4 separate regions of the Homo sapiens genome follow, and regions 1, 2 and 3 are each linked to region 4. Evidence: promoter capture Hi-C in 16 types of primary human blood cells and fetal thymus (Javierre and others, 2016). All regions are on one chromosome and are shown on one strand. Each heading gives the region's core, a stretch centred on a gene start or on the middle of the fragment in contact. The rest is flanking DNA. Distances are from core to core; before and after follow the strand shown.

What was found. Contacts are between HindIII fragments. The CHiCAGO score rates a contact against its expected background, and 5 or more counts as called.
Region 1: a fragment that was not itself captured here is called in contact with the fragment with the promoter of ZCCHC2 in region 4 in 1 of 17 cell types (megakaryocytes); the score reaches 8.3 in megakaryocytes.
Region 2: a fragment that was not itself captured here is called in contact with the fragment with the promoter of ZCCHC2 in region 4 in 5 of 17 cell types (fetal thymus, endothelial precursors, naive CD8 T cells and 2 more); the score reaches 8.2 in fetal thymus.
Region 3: a contact is called between a fragment that was not itself captured here and the fragment with the promoter of ZCCHC2 in region 4, in 1 of 17 cell types (megakaryocytes). The highest score is 5.2, in megakaryocytes.

What each region holds. Positions count from the first base shown.
Region 1 is chr18:62,254,274-62,257,361 of GRCh38, reverse strand. It overlaps RELCH (RAB11 binding and LisH domain, coiled-coil and HEAT repeat containing), which reads right to left. Exons shown (of 29, transcript NM_001346231.2): 13 at 1,884-1,955. Among named protein-coding and RNA genes, the nearest start is that of RELCH, 69 kb to the right of the region's middle. The HindIII fragment of the contact is 1,497 bases long and covers 564-2,060 here.
Region 2 is chr18:62,982,527-62,985,542 of GRCh38, reverse strand. No RefSeq gene overlaps it. Among named protein-coding and RNA genes, the nearest start is that of PHLPP1, 270 kb to the right of the region's middle. The HindIII fragment of the contact is 1,871 bases long and covers 812-2,682 here.
Region 3 is chr18:62,199,713-62,202,777 of GRCh38, reverse strand. The region is part of intron 1 of RELCH (RAB11 binding and LisH domain, coiled-coil and HEAT repeat containing); the gene reads right to left. Among named protein-coding and RNA genes, the nearest start is that of RELCH, 14 kb to the right of the region's middle. The HindIII fragment of the contact is 2,037 bases long and covers 446-2,482 here.
Region 4 is chr18:62,521,374-62,524,572 of GRCh38, reverse strand. ZCCHC2 (zinc finger CCHC-type containing 2) reads right to left here and starts at 1,548. Exons shown (of 14, transcript NM_017742.6): 1 at 210-1,548. The coding sequence starts at 1,148. RefSeq lists silencers at 25-264, 1,155-1,654, 1,685-1,954, 2,185-2,294 and an enhancer at 266-839. The HindIII fragment of the contact is 5,111 bases long and covers 1-1,575 here.

The DNA.
Region 1 (3,088 bases), core at 63-2,562, 270 kb after region 4:
ACTTTAAAAGTACTTAAAAATTGCATTGCTCTTTTTTATGCTAATAGTTAATATAATGTACACCCACTGCTGTGCCTTGATTTCACACAGAATATTTTCCAGTTATGATAAAGAGTGTTTTAGCTTCATGGCTGAGGTTAGGATAAAGAGCTACCAATATACAAATTCATGCTCCTCCTCTCCTACTTGTACTAATATTGCAATTTATAAAATTCTTAAAACATAAACTTGTTTAGGTCCTTTTTACATACAATAACTACGATAAAATAAAAATAAAGGCAGATGACATGGCTATTTGCATAAATTTACAGCATGATTTGGTATGTAGAGCAAGGCTTGAGAGACATTTTTAAAAAGTCTGGTTTTCACTTTTTAGAAACAAAAATACATGCAATTTTAGCATATCTTAAAACACATTTAGGTTGGTGAATATATAACATCTTTTGGTACAGCCTCATTTATTTACTTTTTAGGCTAAAAATTGCCCTAAAATATCTTAAACTATTTAAAGGGACTTGTTGGTTGGTATCCACACAAGGCAATATGACAGAGGAAAATAAGCTTCAAGTGGGCATTTGCTTTATGCTGATTTAGGCAAGGGTCAACTGTGGCAATCAGTTTTAGTATGCCACAGGGACCCCACCAGAGCATTGGTCAGGAGGCATTACTCTATTTAAGTCATGAACACACTGAGAAACTGCCAATGTAGAGACATTTTGCTGCTATCAGTGACAATGGGGTACGCAGAAGGCAAACATAGATCCGCTGAGGAAACATTGTATCTATTATTAATACTGCTTAGTATTCTAGGATCAGAGTAGAACAGCCTATTTATCCTTTGAGAGCAAGGGATGCTCATCTGTCTTGGAACAATAAATAATAAGATGCTCAAAACCATTTGCATCAATCTGTATGATTTATCACAACAATAAGGCATTTTCTTCCACTAGAAAAACATTAAAAAAATTTCACCGTGCCTAGTTCCTGGTGAAGGTATGGGAAAATAAAAACTCCAAGGTACTGTTAGTAGGAGTATAAATCCACTGGCAATGAATGCTGTCTACTTGGTTTCCTTGAAGTGACATTCTCACTCCATCCAATTTCATGAAAATGTCTGCCACATACCCAAGTCTGAAAAACCAGTTTGACTGTAAGTGTTTCTGTGAAGTAAAATTGGTGTCCCATTAAAAAAAAAGCAGCTAGTTGAGCTCATAACTCAAACAACTGCCTAAGTGCTTTTCCTGCAAATGGCTATAATTTTTCAGTATGCAGCAAAGGGTTTTTATATGAGTACTTTCTATTTTGTCTCACAGAATATTAAAAAGATGCATGCTTCACAGGTCAAAATTTAGTAAAATAAATAATTTTACTGATTCAGCAAGCTCCTTTTTAGGTGAAATTGGCTTTTTCTGCAAAAGCATGGCAGTAAAGAATACAATCATTATTATAATAGTACATTTGGGTGCCACTGCCCTGATTAGTGCTAATGCAGCAGCATTTTTGCCCATCCCTGCTTTTGCACCAACAATACAAATTTCAACACAGTGAAAGAGACAAAAAGTGTCTTATTATTATGAAAACAGTTTTCTCCTCATGGACCTTTTTGGAAGGATCTCAAGGAAACCCCCAGGGTCCTCAGACCACACTATGAGAACTGCTGATATAGTTTAATATATTTATACTCATCCAAAATCAGTGGTAATGTACCTATGTGTCTGCAATGCCATACTGTACTAATGTGAGTCTCTTTTTTGGATCATCTCTTTTCTTTATTAAGACAGCACATCTAGGAGACATTTGGATTAAAATCTATAAGACACTCAAAAAAAGGTTTTTCTATTATTGGAAAAATAGTTTAAAGAAAAAAAAAAAGACAATCTTACAGGAAGGTAAGGTGCCAGTGCTCCACAGGATTCTGCCACAAGCAGTCGTCTTTCTGGGTATTTGTGATTAATCTAGAGCAAAAAAAATAAATAAATCAAGCATAAACAGCATACCCTCCCTTCCTTCAAAAGAGAATTACATTTCACCACAAATCCTGTTAAGAATGCAATAAAGCTTCTTCCTTTTCCACTTCTGGGAATCCCTGTTTGACTATACCTGGATCGGGAATGAGGGAGTGAGGGAGAACCTAAATATGAGGTTACAGGGGTCATCTGTTAAAGAAAAAAGGGAAAACCAAGATGAAAATTTGGCAAGGTATCTAGAGATTATGGGCTTGCCTAAGAGTAGGCCTTCCTTAGAGTAACAGGAGAAACCAGGACCTTTCCCTAGCAAGAGTAGAATATTTTTAAACTTGGAAAACTCAGCTTCTGGATCTTATAGATACGGTCTATAATATGTGCCAGTCTTCTTTCTTCAACCTAAGGGATGAGGAAGGAAGTTAATCAATGATTTGACCAGAACCCTTGCTAGAAATATGCTTTTATTTATAAAGTAAGCAGACTTCAATCCATTCCTCTGTTTGCAAATGCAAAATGATGGGGTTTTGCTATTGTGATGACTACACTGAACCATAACCAAAAATAACAAAAAAAATGACACATACTGGGTTTTGTTCCCATATGTCTTCTTCATAGAATATAAATCTTTCTTTGACTGGAAAAGGAGTATATTTGTTCTCATATTCCCATATGAAAAGGTGACATAATTCATTAATGTATTGGATGCCTAAAATTAAGAAAAAAAATTATATAATAATCTACTGGGCAACAAACTGGAGGTAGGCGGCTAGATAGATCCCCGATATCCAAGTTTACTCAGGTTACAGAAGAGGTGGCAGTAGAGATGTTTATAACTGACATCTTTGAATTAAATTTAATCCAGATGTAGTTACCTCAAAAGTAGAATGTTTGAATGTCAACGTATGGCTGTGCATAAACTTTCGTTTGCTTTTCTTTAGCTCAGTAAGTCTCAAAATTGAAATGCAAAAATCAATTGTATGTCTATATATTAGCAATGAACAAACTAAAAATAAAATTAAGAAAAAAGTCTATTTACAATAGCATCCAAAAGCATGAAATACTTAGAAATAAATAAAACAAAAGGGCAAAACGTACACTACTCGGAAAAATACAAATTACTGTTG
Region 2 (3,016 bases), core at 498-2,997, 460 kb before region 4:
GCAGTTTTCTTGAAAATTCAGAAGAGCAAATCACTTATTTATGAGTTCAAGAAAAGTCAACATCTGGAGGTGTAGCATTTGGGAAAACCATCTTTGTTGCCATTTCAACTTTCTCTCAATAGGTAAGATTGGTAATTAGGGGAAAGTGCCAGCTTACCAGAATGGAATAAGACCTAAGAAACTGAATGACTAGAAAGTACCTGTGATTTCAGTGAAGGCAGTTTTCCTTCCCTGTCCTTAGAAAAGCGGAGGAATGACAATGAGAGCAATTCCAGTCATGAGCAGATGGAAGAAAATTCTCCAAGTGTTCTGTTGCTTCCCCCTCTGCACAGGATAGAAGAACACTGTGTTTCTGATTGGGCATAAAATGAAGGGACTCATGAACCGAAGCTGGAGAAATGCCATGATTGTTTATGGGTACTCACATCAGGGCTGGGGACAGCATAGCCTCCAGCTTTCTACCACACACCCCAGAAAATGGACGGCTGCCTTGAGGACCCATCTGCCAATTTCCTCGGCAGTGTTCAACCTTAGTCTTCCAGAAGGAACAGGACAATATATGGGGCCTCCACACTGGCTTCTGCCATTCATGTGGGCCCGTAGGCCATCGTCAGGCTGGCTCACACCCTCATGAGGTTAGCACAGCCACCTCCACACCAAGCCATTTTCTCAGGGCCCCGTGCTGGTGAGGCAGAGCCATGCAAAGTAGCCAGCTCTTTACTGGTGTTTCCTAAACACGTTGAATGAATGCACACAGTGAAGCAGGAGGGTGTGAGCGGTGGGGTGTGCTTTCCATCACCAGCCCAAAGCTTTGTCTGCTAGATGTAATTCCTACATTCACTTAGTGAGCAGGGCAATAGACTCGCCGTACTAAGTTGGAACTTTGTTGTAATTTTGGTGCTGAGTGGGGTGAGGCTTAGGGGAAAAAAAAAACCACCTTAGAGCCGTCTTTCAAATACATAGCAATAAGAATCAGTTCATGACAGATAAATGACAATAGTGAGATAAGAGTTTCCATAGACTAGTTTGCACAGTGTGAGTTAGGGGGATGCAATGAAAGAAAAATGAAATGGCAACAAATGAGAGAAGCCCATTTTCTCCATCATTACCAGTGCTTTTCCTTCTATAACAATTGTAATAAGTGACTTAAGAGTTTCCCATTTTCAAAAAGGTACTTTTTTCTTTCTTTTTTTTTTTTTTTTAAGAGTCAGGGGCTTGCTGTGTTGCCCAGGCTGGCCTTGAACTCGTTGGCTCAAGTGATCCTCTAGCCTCAGCCTCCCAAGTTGCTGGGACTAACTTCAGGCCCACAGTACCATACCTGGCTTAAAAAGGTGCTTTTGCTGCATTCCTCATTATTTTCTTTCAGACGCCCCTTAGTTCCTTCATTTGTAACAATGACAATATTTACACTTACATAAGGCTTTAGTATTTAAATTACTGCAAATACATGACCTAATTTGATTGCTGGAGAGGTAGGTAAGGCAGATACCAGAAACCCACACTTTATAGAAATTCTATCTTTTTTTAGGATGAGTTCATGTCCTTTGCAGGGACATGGATGAAGCTAGAAATCATCATTCTCAGCAAACTATCACAAGGCCAGAAAACCAAACACCGCATGTTCTCACTCATAGGTGGGAATTGAACAATAAGAACACTTGGACATAGGGTGGGGAACATCACACACCGGGGCCTGTTGTGGCGTGGGGGAGCGGGGAGGGATAGCATTAGGAGATATACCTAATGTAAATGACGAGTTAATGGGTGCAGCACACCAACATGGCACATGTATATATATGTAACAAACCTGCACGTTGTGCACATGTACCCTAGAACTTAAAGTATGATAATAAAAGAAAAAAAAATTTTTTTTGAGACAGAGTCTCTGTCGCCAGGCTGTTCCAGTCTCTGCATTCCAGGCTGGAATGCAGTGGCGTAATCTCGGCTCATTGTAACCTCCGACTCCTGTGTTCAAGCGATTCTCCTGCCTCAGCCTCCCGAGTAGCTGGGATTACAGGCATGCACCACTACACCTGGCTAATTTTTGTATTTTTAGTAGAGACGAGATTTCAGTATGTTGGCCAGGCTGGTCTCGAACTCCTGACCTCAAGTGATCCACCCGCCTTGGCCTCCCTAAGTGCTGGGATTATAGGCATGAGCCCCCGTGCCCGGCCTGAAATTCTATCTTGTGATAACATGTCAGGGATGAACTCAAAATACCCTTTGATGAATGTTCACATGATCAAATGGAATTCTTCTTCTCTCCCCTGCAGTGCCAGTGGTGAGGGGACTCTCAGGTGTTATCCTATAAGGTCCAGAACATGTTAACAGATGCTTTGTGTTTTGCTTTTTTTAACCATGGAAAGGGGAATTGGGAATTAGATGGACATTGAAGACAGACTTCTCTCCCAGCAAAACTATATGATTCTGGTTATCCATCTTAATATTTCTGCATGTCAATTTCCCATGGAAAATCAGGCTCATCACAGGAACCAGCTGTCATCACTTCTACTGTCTTACAAAGCGGAAACACAGCTTCTCGGCTATACTTGACAGTGGTATAGGAGTTTGCTATCATGTGTTTACGAAAATACAGTGATAAGAAACTTAAACACTTTGTTTCTTCTGGGAAAGTGAAGGAAGGATAAAGAGTGAAGCCCATTTCCACCCAAAGTCTAAGCTTACCAGCAGGTGGTGCTGTGACAAAAGCAATCAAGAGAAACCAAGGCAGGCAGGTGGGGTTTCTGGGTCCCAGAGATCGGCTCTGCTACCTCTCATCAAAGCCAGTGCTCGGGAGCAGGAGCGAAGGGCAGGAAGCTTGAGGGCAGCACAGGGCGGGCAGCATGCGCTGGATCCAACACCAAACAGTTTCTAGGGTCCTCGATCAGGGGTTCTTCTCCTAGCAAGGCTCACCACAGCTCTCCGCTTCCCGTTTCATTTCTTCCTTTCTCTCCCCTCAAAGCCCTTTCCCAATTATCTGGATTTCCAGCAGGAAGCAGGGAATAGAGCAGGCGGG
Region 3 (3,065 bases), core at 215-2,714, 320 kb after region 4:
TCATCTTCCTTCTAATATTTTAAATCATATATACAAGCCTAGATTAGAGCTACTTTGGTCATGAGACATTATTCTTCAATAACACCATTATTATTTCTCTAAAAGTTTTAAAGAACTCATTTATTCAACAGGGAGACTCTTGGGGGAAAGCAAACACACACTTTAATTTTCAACTTGGCATTATCATGGCCGTTGAAAAATATATTTTCTAATTTTTTCTAGTTCCAAGCCAACAACTTCATATTCTCCAGGAAAAAAAAGCTCTGATATCTTTTAATATAATAAATATGATGTCACAAAAGAAAAACAATCTCTCAATTCATTAAAATCTACTCCATCTTGTCAGAAAGAAAAATTATTTATGGAAGAAAGTAATTTTAACTTTGACTGGACTACCCTATATGTACTTTGGATTTTAAGACTAGTAACAGGTTATATTAAAGCTTCAAGGTAAATGTGCTTCTTTAGATTAAGCCACAATTCTTTTCCAGGAGAAGCAAATGCCTTTTGTTTTCCAAATGTCCTAATATACAAGAAGAGTTTGGGAAAATTAGCCTCTTTTATTAAGAATCTACCATATTCTAATATGAAGTATTTTAACTACAGAGCATTTCTTCAAATACCAGGATGCCTATTGTGTAACTTCTTAACAATTCACTTTATAACTCAGAAACAAATAATCAGGTACTTTCATCATAGTTGGTAAACTGGTAAAACCTGTTCATAAGTTTTATCAAGTCTGAGAACTAAACCTATTATACACAGTCGTGCAGATTGATGTTTTAAATCACATACAAAAGTAGTTTTATTTATATTTACATTTAATATTTTAGTACTGCTGAAAAATGTTTTTACTATAATTGAAAAACTTAGTCTCAGATCCTTGAAAACTACATGGCACTTTAAGAACCAAATGCATCAGAAAAACGGACCAGCTGTCGACTAATAAAAGAGTATTGGGTAATTTAAATATTTATTGAACAACTACTGTGAACTAGGTCACTGACAGGAATAGCAAAATAATTTTTTTAAAGGACATGGATATATAAGTCTAAGTAATCATGTTTATATATGCTTACATTTGCATTAATGTTTTTGTAAACATCCACAATACATTATTAATAATAACTGACTCTGAGAAGCAGAAGTACATTTTTCACTACATATTTCTCTTTGTATTATTTGAGCTTTTTGTTTTTACTTTTGGCATTTTCCCCCATAATTACATTTAATATATACTTTAATATGGGCACTTTATAATTTAAAAATCATGAAAGTATCCAATTCACAATTAAATGGAAAAAAAATCAAGCAATTCGCTTTATATTACAATTCTTTCAGTAAAGACGATTTATTCAACCATGCTTAAAAAAATCTGTCATGAGAAAGAAATTTATAATAATAAATTCAATAAATATAAAGATATTGCTAATAACAGACTTACTTTAAAAGTAATTCTATTTAAACCTGAGGTTGTGTGTAAACATTTTAAAATGTTATTCAAGGGCCGGGGGCGGTGGCTCACGCCTGTAATCCCAGCACTTTGGGAGGCCGAGGCAGGCGGATCACAAGGTCAGGAGATCGAGACCATCCTGGCTGAAACGGTGAAACTCCGTCTCTAATAAAAATACAAAAAATTAGCTGGGCATGGTGGCATGCGCCTGTAGACCCAGCTACTTGGGAGGCTGAGGCAGGAGAATCACTGGAACCTGGGAGGCGGAGGTTGCAGTAAGCCGAGATCGCGCCACTGCACTCCAGCCTGGGCAACAGAGCTAGTCTCAGTCTCAAAAAAAAAAAAAAAAAAAAAAAAAAAGCAAAGAAAAAACAGTTATTCACTTAAGGTGGGATCTCAGAGATGTATGTCAAAGAAAGAGAACCTATAAGGCTACTCTAAAATATGAAAGTTAAAAAAATAAGACTATAAATTTTCTACTTTGGAAATAATATAAAATTCATTCAATACTAATGAAAAGTTTCTTTTATGTGGGCACTGTATTTATAAACGTCAGAGTAAAACCACAAAGGTACTCTGCCTCCTCCCACTCAAGGTCAGTTCTGAAATTATTTGGAAGGCTTGGTATAGCAGTAACCTTGGTGATAAAGAAAGGAAAGATGTGAAACACTTTAGAATACACATGATACACCAGAATAGAAAGGCTAATTTCTGGATAGACCAGGATCTTGGTCTATCTCTCCATTAAAAAAAAAAAAAAAAGTTGGGGACAGCCTTTTACTTTTAGCAACTGCGGCACTCACATTTATATTTTCCTGATCCTCAATTCCTCTCCAAAGATGGGGCTAATTTTTCACTGACCTCTATGTCCAAAATATTTGAGAGCTAAAAGGAATTAAGACAGTACAATCCCCTCATTTTTACAGATGAGAGAACTGAAGCTATGTACTTATGCAGTATTTACTAAGCCATAGTGAGGAGTACAAAGATAAAACTTCGGTAAAACTTTGTCCTTGCCTTAAGGAAGCTTATGAATCATTGGAATTAAGTCATATACAGGGATAACAATAATACAATTGGCTTACTTTATCTTAAAGGTTAAAAAATTAATCTGTGAGCAAGCCAGAAGTAGAATTCAAGCCTCCCAGTTTGCAGCCCACTGTCTTTTTCTCTTTGTCACAGGGTTTCAGAAAGAGTGGAACTTCAAAGTCAAGATTTACACTTGGGAAGAAACTTACATGCTGAAACTTTATTGACAAGCTAGTCACTTAAAATTTCTATAATACAAGATGACTTTATCATATGAAAAGCTATTAGTAAAGAGAATGATTATTGTTAGTGATGACAACAATAGTAATTATTATTATTAACATTCTTTTTGACCACTTATTTTATGCCACATACTTTACACAGATAACCTTTCATAACAACCCTGTGCTAAAGGAGTCATTACCATCTGCATTTTACAGTAAAGGAAACAAAGACTATCCAGAGTCATGCAATGAGGGAGTGGCAGAATAGAAATATGAACTCAAGCTCTCCGACAGCAAAGCCTGAGCTCTAAACCATTGGTTCTCTTGAATAATATGTAAGAGCATCCAGGTTCTGATCG
Region 4 (3,199 bases), core at 299-2,798:
CTGCCGGGGTGTGGGGTGGGGTGGGGGAGTGGAACGGAGCGGCCCAGCGAGACGAAGCTCAGCCCTCTGGCGCTGGGAGCTGCCGGGTGGGGATTCCGAGCCACCTGCGCCGGGCTGGGGCTCGGGCAAGGGGCGTCCGAGAGCGAGGCCGGGGAGGCCGCCGGGGCAGCGATCGCACCGCGAGTCCAGGGAGGCTCCGTGCGCCTTACCTGGGCCCTGGGGCCGGCAAACTTGCACGGCTCTACCTCCACCTCCGCGTCCTCGGGGCCCCCGCGGAGCGCGGCGCGGAGCCTCTCCAAGTGTTCCCTCAGGGTGACCCGCTGGTGGAAGGAGAAAGCCGGGTGCAGCGAGGCCATGGTGAAGAGCAGCAGCAGTTCCTCCTGGGCCCTGGAGCCAAGCCCGCCGCCGACCCGGGGCTCCACAATGCCGCCTTCCGGGCCTGAGCCGTCCTTCTCGGCGTCCTGCTCGCCGTCGCCGTCCTCGCCGCGCTCGTCCTCCGCGCCGCCCCGCGAGCCCTCGCCCCGGGCCGCGCGCAGGCTTTTGAGCACCGAGTCCACCTGGGGTAGCAGGCGGTGCAGACGGCCAGCGGCCTCCCGGTTCTCCGAGCCCAGCAGCGCCAGGTAGACGATGAGGCGCGAGCGCACCGCGGGCTCTCGGAAGTCGGCCAGCGGCCCCGGGTCCGAGAGGCCGTTGGCCTTGGCCTCCGAGTCGCGCAGGTAGTGGTAGTCCTTGCGCGCCAGGTCCTCCAGGCACGAGCCAAGGAAGCGCAGCTCCAGCGGGTTGCACAGGTCCAGCAGCCCGCACATGAACTCCAGGCGCTGCGCCGAGCCCAGCACCAGCCCGAACCACTCGTATACCCGCTCCTGCTCGCGCAGCGCCGCCGAGGGCCCCCCGCCGCCGCCCGGCATACCCGCCCCCGCCGCCGCTCCACCAGCAACAGGCGGCCCGAGTCCCCGGGGCGGCGGCGGCGGCGGCAGAGGGCCCCGCGACGGGCCCGCGGGCGGCGGCGGCGGCGGCGGGGGGCGGCAGTCGCGGCGGCGGCGCGAAGGCGCCTTCGCGCCCGGCCGCGCGTCCGCCTCGGGCTCCTCCGCCTCGGGCGGCGGCTCCGCGGGGTGCGTTGGCTTCAGCGGCAGCTTCATCCTCAGCATCCTCGGCTAGGGCGGCGCAGACATGCGAGCGGGGGCGGGCGGGAGGGGCCGCGAGGTGGAGCACGGGCCGAGGCGGCGGCGCGGCCGTCAGGAGCGGGGCCCCTCCATGCCGCCGGGGGAGGGCCGGGGCCGGGGGCGGGTCTCGGCCGGCGAGGGGGGCGGTGGCCGGCCGGCGGGGTCGCTGGCGTCGTCTTCCCGGGCTGGGGGCGGGGCGTGCCCGCGACGGCTCCTCCCCCTGGGCTCCTCGCCGGTTCTGGGAGCCCGGGTGCGGGTGGGAGCAAGCGAGCGAGGGTGTCCTCCTTCCGCCTCCCTCTCTCCGCCGTCCGCGCTGAGCCGGGGCGGCGGTGCCTGAGCTGTTCCCTCGCGAGCCGGTGAGGACGGAGCGGCTGGGTGAGGAGGTGGAGCAGCCGGGCCGGGCGGAGAAGCTTGCGGGCTCCGCGCACCTCACCTCCGCCAATCAGCACCGCGAATCGACGGTGACGTCGCTCTCCCCGCCCCCTGGGGGGCCGCCTTTCTCCAGGAAGCCACGCCCAACTGCTGGCCGGCCGCCTCCCTCTCGGCGGCTTCCGTGCGGTCCTAAAGGCTGGTGCTCGGCAGGAGGAGGACGCGGGCTGGGGCCGTGGGGCGGCGTGAGGGTAGCCCGGGAGCGGTGAGGAGCGTGCGAGGCCCACGTGAGCGGAGGGACGCGGCCGCTCTCACCTTTCCTGAGGGCCCTGGCCCGGCTTTGGACTCCTGATTCTCCTCTGCTTGCCAGCTGCCGCCCCGCCTCCGCCAGTGGTGCCCGGGCTGCCTGCGCGGCCGGAGTGAACGCGTCCCGGGAGCAGGGGTTTCTCCGAAGTGAGTGCGCCAGCCCCGGGACGAGCTCGTTCGAGTCCTCACCGCCCAGTGCACTTCCTGAAAGCCGGCGGTGGGCTGTCTCCCACCTTGTGAAACTTTGCCAGGTGTCGCTCACAGGGGACTGGGTCCGGACGCGGGTGGCGGCGCTGGTTTGCGGCCCCGGTTTGCGGCCCCGGCGCCGCGATCCCGGGCCGCGCCCACGCCCAGGCTGGAGGCACCGTGCGCAGGTGGGGACGCGCGGCCGGGAGGTGCGCAGCGGGACCCGGCCGGCCGAGGGTGAGCGCTGCTGGGGACGCTCCTAGTCTGTAACGCTCTGTGAAAATTATTTCCTGGATAGTTTAGGAAAAGCCTCTCCCTTCCCCGCCCCTAAACCTCTATCTTTTGGGAATCATTGATTTGCTAAATGACATTTCGGTGCCTAACCCATTTTGAATCCTTGTTCTGCTGTGAATTTCATGTGACTGGAGGAATTTAATAAGCTACCAACTTGACAGGCTTTAAACTTAAAAAAAAAAAGTTTTGTTACGTTTTTCAGATTTAGGCTTCCAAGATGTTTACACTCGCACTGTTACTTTTTTTTTTTTTTTTTTTTTTTTTTAGCAACATAGTCCAAATTTTTAAAACTCAGCTGGATCTTTTGAGGGTTAATTAAAAGGTGGGTTAAAAAAAATCTTAAGACTTTAAATTTAGAAGTCCTACTACAGCTATGTAGTAGGAGTATGCAGAAAGATAAGAATCACATTGTAACTCTTTGCGGTGGTGCTGGAACATCTGTTGGGAGAGCATATGCTGAACTCTGTTCACCTCACAAGTTTATGTCCTAAGAGGCTCATTCACAGTTCAGTAAAAGGGTGAACTGAAGCCTGAATCAGTTTCGGGGATGAAAGGGTGAGAGGGAGAACTGTTTTCAGCACATTTGAGGTTGGCAAAATATATAAAAGTCACTCTTTCTTGTAATTTGCTAGTTCTTTACAGTCTTTAGATGTAATTTACAGCCAAGAAAACTTTATTATGAGGACTTATACGTCATTGCCCTTTTTTGCTGTCACCCTCAACTACCCTGGGATCTTCTACTCATATCTCATCTCCTGTTCCCACTTTTCTAAAGCTTAGGGTGAAATACTTAGGCAACTAGTAATAATATTAATCTTGCTAGATATTCACAGGTTCATAGTGAGCCAGCTGTCTAGATCTGGATATCTAGTGAGCAAATA